Regions from separate parts of the Homo sapiens genome. Here region 2 is linked to region 1. The links are contacts of gene promoters, found by promoter capture Hi-C in human tissues and cell types (Jung and others, 2019). All regions are on one chromosome and are shown on one strand. The core of a region is centred on a gene start or on the middle of the fragment in contact, and the rest is flanking DNA. Distances in the headings are between cores, read along the strand shown. Region 1 holds the start of TRPV4 (transient receptor potential cation channel subfamily V member 4). Region 2 holds the start of FAM222A-AS1 (FAM222A antisense RNA 1).

The links. The method cuts DNA at HindIII sites, captures the fragments that hold promoters and counts their contacts. A contact is called where the count stands out against the background at its distance.
Region 2: a contact is called between a fragment that was not itself captured here and the fragment with the promoter of TRPV4 in region 1, in 1 of the 25 tissues and cell types used here (pancreas).

What each region holds. Positions count from the first base shown.
Region 1 is chr12:109,832,148-109,835,327 of GRCh38, forward strand. TRPV4 (transient receptor potential cation channel subfamily V member 4) reads right to left here and starts at 1,251. Exons shown (of 16, transcript NM_021625.5): 1 at 1,203-1,251. MIR4497 (microRNA 4497) reads left to right here and starts at 1,201; the gene lies at 1,201-1,289. The HindIII fragment of the contact is 21,611 bases long and covers 1-3,180 here.
Region 2 is chr12:109,772,383-109,775,562 of GRCh38, forward strand. It overlaps FAM222A-AS1 (FAM222A antisense RNA 1), which reads right to left and starts at 1,105. Exons shown (of 3, transcript NR_026662.2): 1 at 915-1,105. RefSeq lists an enhancer at 1-193 and a silencer at 2,922-3,180. The HindIII fragment of the contact is 4,400 bases long and covers 1-3,180 here.

The sequences.
Region 1 (3,180 bases), core at 1-2,500:
GCTAAGGGACCAGGCCAAGGTCACACAGCAGGGGACTGCAGAGCACACCCCGGGCCCCACACAGGCCCGCTCTTAGCCCCGCAGATAACCCAGGCCTGACCTTTCTACCCTTGTTCCCCCAAAAGCCCACCTCGTCACCCTCCTCAGGAGCCCGGGGAGTCCCGACTTACCCTCTGCCCTTGCTCCGGAGCCAAAGTGGCAAAGCTTAAATCCTCAAGCGGTTCTTAGCATCCCAGAACAAAGCTCCCACAGGGTATCTGCCTAACATTTCAGGGGTTCACGGCCCCTCTGCCCCCAGCAGAGGCTCTTGTTTTAGAAGCTGAGCCAGAACAGCCACAGGGCCCACCTCTGCCCTGCCACTTCCCAAGCACCCCGGGGGCACCAGGCCCTGTGTGCAGAGCTGGCCCCAGGACAGGCCACCTGGTGTGGTGGGAAGGGCTTTGGGGCTGGATAGTCCCTGGGTTTAAATCCCAATTGTCTAGATCCCCGACCTAAGCCTCAGTTTCCCCATCTGCAAAACAGAGAGGACAGACAGAGGGAACAGCTGGGGCAGGCTGGAGCAGTGGGTGGCTCGATGAATGCATCTGTGGTTGGTGTTTCCAGGCAAGCGGGGAGTGTGGGAGTCTCTCTCTCCCCCACCCCCACCCCCGCTACCCACCCCCAGGAGCCACCCGCCCCCGGGACGTCCTGAGAGTCCAGGGCAGAACTAGAGGTTAAAGATTTTCATGCCTCTTGGAGGAAACAGCCGTCTCTCCGGGACTCAGTAACCAAGAAGAAGCCTTTGGAAGCTCCAGACTCCAAATTCCCTCCGACATGCTCAGGGGCCAAGGGCAAACCTTAGGTCCCCCGAAATCCCTCTTCCAAGTCTCCTAAGGTGGGCTGCAAGGCTCCGGGCCTTTGGTTCCCTGGCTTGGGGTCTCAGGGAACCGAACCGCCCTCCCCCCAGACCTGCTACCCCAGGCCCCACGTTGGTGCCCATTTCACAGGTGATAAAACCGAGACCCAAAGAGCCGGTGTCCGGCCCAAGGGCACTTAGCTGAGAGGCTGGCGCCTGCGGAACCTGGTGCCTTCCGTCTCCCGCGCCCCTGGCCCGCATTTTGGAGCCTCGGGACCCCCCGGAGCCGGACGGGCCACGGAGATGTCCCCAGGGGCGCGAGGGGACCTCGGCTGAGCCGCCCCTCCCGGGCCCGGGCCCCACTTACCTCCGGGACGGCTGGGCGCCGGCGGCCGGGAGATCCGCGCTTCCTGAATCCCGGCCGGCCCGCCCGGCGCCCGTCCGCCCGCGGGTCCCTCCTCCGCCGGCTCAGGTTCCAGCCGCGCGCCGCCCCCGGCCAGCTCCCCGCCCACCCGCCGGCTCGCGGACCCCGCCGAGCGCAGGCCCTAGAAGGGGCGGCCCCTACTCGCACCCCGCCCGCCCAGCGAGGGCCTCCCCTGCGGGGGAGGTGCAGGGCCAGGGCCTCAGTTTCCTCGCCTGGAAAATGGGTGTCGCGATCCCCGGATAGAGCGGCAGACGGTCTTTGGAGAGGGCTCTAGTTGGAATCGGCTCCGATTCGATCTTGCTCCGTGACTTCGGGCCGCCCTGGGACTGTGTCCTAGTCTCTAAATGGGCGTCCCGGCCCAGTCCTCCACGTGTTTGCTCATTCATTCATTCAGCAGACAATTTCCTCCGAGGCGTTGAAGGAGGTCCCTACCCTCGGGTATGGCCCATAGAGATGGTTCAGGGGTAAATAAATGTGAGCTGCTCTCCTTGGTCTTCACCCAGTGCTTACTGCGAAGCCTGCCTCGGAGTAGGCCATCAATGTTTTGTTGCTGTTGTTTTTGAGACAGGGTCTCACTCTGTTGCCCAGGCTGGAGTGCGGTGGCGTGATCAGGAATCACTGCAGCCTCAACCACCAGCGTTCAAGCAATCCTCCCGTATCAGCCTCCCTAGTAACTGAGACCACAGACGCCTACCACCATGCTTGGCTAATTTTATTTAAATTTTTTGCAGAGATAGGGTCTCACTATGTTGCCTAGGCTGGTCTCAAACTCCAGGCTCAAGCGATCTACCCACCTCGGCCTCCCAAAGTGCTGGGATTAGAGGTCTGAGTCACCGTGCCTGGCTCAATGCGTTTTTGTTTATTTTTTTTATTATTATTATTATTTTTGATACATGTTCTCCCTTTGTCACCCAGGTTGAAGTGCAGTGGCATGATCACGGCTCACTACAGCCTCAAACTCCTGGCCTCAAGAGATCCTCCCACCTCAGCCTCCTGAGCAGCTGGGAGTACAGGCATGCGCCACCACACCCCACTAATTTTTATTTTTTTGTAGAAGGGGGGGTGGGGGAGGGCAGCCGGTCTACAACTCCTGGCCTCAAGTGATCCTCCCACTTCAGTCTCCCAAAGCACTGAGAGTATAGGCATGAGCCACCACACCTACCCATGTATTTTCTTTTATCAGATAACAAAGGTGGGCCCCAACACATAGCCATACCCTCTACCCAGCACTGAGTCCACTTGAATACCTCCACAGGATGGGCAGCTCACTTCCTCCAGGGTGGTTGGAAAGCCTAGCAGGCCCACAGCTTGGCTCTGTGACTCTCTAACCCAGCAGCCCTATGCAAGTCCCTTCACCTTTGTGCCTCAGTGCCTCTACATCCCCCTGTAGAGTGGGGCATACAAAAGTCCTCACCTCACAGTCGCAGTGAAGATGCTGGGAGCATCCAGGCTGTGCAGAGCCCTTTTTTTTTTTTTTTTGAGACAGAGTCTTACTCTGTCGCCCAGGCTGGAGTTCAGGGGTGTGATCTCAGCTCACTGCAACCTCTGCCTCCTGAGTTCAAGCGATTCTCCTGCCTCAGCCTCCTGGGGGCTGGGATTACAGGCATGCGCCACCACGCCAGGCTAATTTTTTGTATTTTTAGTAGAGACAGGGTTTCACCATGTTGGCCAGGCTGGTCTTGAACCCCTGACCTCAGTTGATCCACCCACTTTGGCCTCCCAAAGTGCTGGGATTACAGGTGTGAGCCGCCGTGCCCGGCCCAGAGCCATGCCATTTTCATCATTAGTGTTTTCACTAAATTGAGCTGACTCAGGGACTGTGGGGTAGCTCCTTCCTCCTCAGCTTGAAAATAGCAGCATCTCTCCTGAGGTCCAACAGCTGGAAAGTGAAATTTTAGAATTGCTGGGTGGGGAGGCGAAA
Region 2 (3,180 bases), core at 193-2,692, 60 kb before region 1:
TAGGGGCGCATGGCACAGTCTGGGTCTGGGCCCAGGAACCCAGCTGGGGCTCTAGCCCTGACTACCTGTGCCTCCTTGGGCCTCAGTTTCCCCATCTAGGAACTGGGCTGGCTGATCTCAAAGTGCCCTCCGGTGGCCATTCTAGCATGGTTTCTTTATACAATCAATCACCTTTGATTACCACATTGATGGGGGGAGGACAGGTGACGAAAGCATTGCTATCACTGCTACAATTACTGAGATCCCACACTTAACTACAGGCAGACCAGATACCAGGCTCGGGGCTAAACGTTACTTGTGCCTCACAACCACTCGGCGCAACAGAGGTGCATGCACCCACATTACAGACAAGGTTAGTGAGACCCACAGAAGGGCAATCACTTTGCCCAAAGTCACACAGCTGAGGATGAAGAATGGAGAAGTGGCTGGGATAGAACACAGGCCTGTCTGATTCTGAGTCCTAGTTCCCAGCTGCAACCCTTTGCAGAGAATAGAAAACAACTGTCAACCGCCAAATGTGGCCAATTTGGCTCCAGAACCCAGGCACAGCCTTGGATCCCAGAGCCCCAACTGCCCAGACATCCCGGTGGGTGAGGGAGAAAGAGAGGAGAAGCCACCATCTCATCCAGGCCCCGGGCAGGAGCTGCAGTCCTTCTCTAGGTCTCTGTTCTGACACTAGGATCCTTCTCTCTCTACTTAGCTGTCCTGGGCTCACACCCTTTACCACGGAGCTGTCCAATACGGTAGCCTGGTGTGCAGAAAACCTCGGCTATCACTTCCTGTCATAGTGACCATTAGAAGATCACCCCAGGTCAGAGACAGGTGACCTTACAGAGAGATCAGAGCTGCCCCAGAAGGCCACGGGGGCTCAGGCGCAGATTTGGATAGAGGAAGCTATGTTAGTAGACACTCACCTTTCCAGGGTGGCTCTGTGTTTTCTTCACTCATATCCCTGTCTTTATATCACAACCCCATTTCTGGAGCGGGGAAACTGAGACAAGTTCCAACTTCTGAACTTGCCATCCAAACAGCGACTCCTAACTTTGCCCTACTCAGCTCCCTCGGCTGCAGCCTGGACTCCTCCACGCGCAGCTCCACGTGTGCCCAGCACCACTGCGCCTGCCCATCCCTCCCGGGCGCTCTTAAAGGGCCCACACCCCGTCCCACCCCCAACGTTGGCCGGAGAAGGTGGAGTCCAGCCAGCGCGATAGGTGAGAGCAAGGGACGAAAGGTTTTCTGTTTAAATTGCCACCATCACCAGCTCGCCAGCGAGTGGCAGGGGGAGGGGAGGAGGCAAGAAAACGGAACTTAGTATCCCACTGACTCCACGTGTGACCCTGGGTGACTTGTGTGCCTCTCTGAGCCTCAATTTCCAGATCTGTTGAAGGAAGTGGTGGCACCTGGAGGAGTGAGGTGGCATCAGGTGATGTGTGGTCAGGATGATAGGGCAGATTCGTCCTGTAAGAGGACCCCTCTGAGTGCTGTGGGATGTAGTTGTCTGAGGGTCAGAACTCGTTCCATCCTGAGGCTGTGTGCAGGTGTGTGTGACCTCAGGCAAGTGATCACTCCTGAGTCATCTATTTCCCAACTGTAAAATGAGGCTCCAACGGGGAGCTGTGGCTCATACCTGTAATCCCAGCACTTTGGGAAGCAAAGGCTGGAGGATCACTTGAGCCCAGGAGTTCAAGACCAGCTTGGGCAGTATCACGAGACCCCTATCTGTACAAACAATTTTAAGATTAGCTGGGTGTAGTGTGTGCCTGTAGTCCCAGATACTCAGAAGGCTGAGGTGGGAGGATCACTTGAGCCCAGGAGGTCAAGGCTGCAGTGAGCCATGATCGCACCACTGCACTACAGCCTGGGCAACAGAACAAGACCTCGTCTCATAAAATAAAATGAGGCTAATATTTTAATGTATGTACCATGTGAGGTTTAACTTAGGAGACAGGTGGTCAAATCCCCTGGGTAGCACAGAGCCATTAGGTAAAAGACATATAACAAAGGTGGAGTATTCCCATCCTTGCCTAGTGCAGCTGACTTCCAAGTCACCTTGGAAAGTGGGTTTCCCAGTCAAAAGAGTTTGAGAAACAGATGCCTATCCCGGCTCTTGGAGATACACAAATCGCATTAACATATTAAAGATGCTAACAGATCCTGCAGGCAAGATTCCCTTTTAACTTCTTTGCAGTGGCACAGTCTCGGCTCACTGTAACCTCTGCCTTCCAGGTTCAAGTGGTTCTCCTGCCTCAGCCTCCTGATTAGCTGGGATTACAGGCATGCTCCACTACACCTGGCTAATTTTTGTATTTTTAGTAGAGATGGGGTTTTGCCATGTTGACCAGGCTGGTCTCAAACTCCTGACCTCAAGTGATCTGCCTGCCTTGAAGGCCTCCCAAAGTGCTGGGATTACAGGCATGAGCCACCACGCCCAGCCCCCTTTTAGCTTTAACCCAGCATTTCCCTAACTTTTTTGACCACCTAAGTTTTTGTTTCCACCTATTTACACCCCATGGAACAAACAAGACTTCAGGAAATGCTGAGTCCTGCCTCTTGTATTGCAATTGGGGAAACTGGGTAAGTCCTTTCTCCTCTCTGGACCTCAGTTTCCCCAATTACACTGCAAGGACTCATAATGAGTTTGTGGCAGAGCAAGGACTGGAACCCAACCCTGACCTGGGTGGCTGGGTCTCATTTCTAGTACGCCCTAACTGGTCCTGTCCCTCATATTGAATTAGGCACAAAAGAAGGGGAAGGCCCTCAGGGAAGAGGAAGAAGCCACATTTGAGAAGTAGGGGTGAGTACTCTTATTTTGAAAGAGAGGAAACTGAGGTTCAGAGAGGGGAGGCAACTTGCCTGAAGGCACACAGCAACTTGGTCCTGAACGCTCCAGAGGCAGTCGAGGCCACCTTCTCTCCTTCTTGGGGTGAGGGTACGAGGGTGGGGGTGGGATATTTCCTGTCTCAAAGCCTCAGGGCACACCCAACAGGGTGCTCACAGGGAGTCTTCCTGATCACATCCCCAGGTTCCAAGCTTCCTTCTGAACCCCTCTGAGGAGGCCCCTGAGTGTGACAACAGCGGCCCCTGGTGACCAATCTCCGGGACCTCAGCAGCCTTACCCTGTGCTAGCCAAGGGCAGATCTGTGGGATCCAAGGGGTGTACCCCCAAAACTAAGCGGTGCC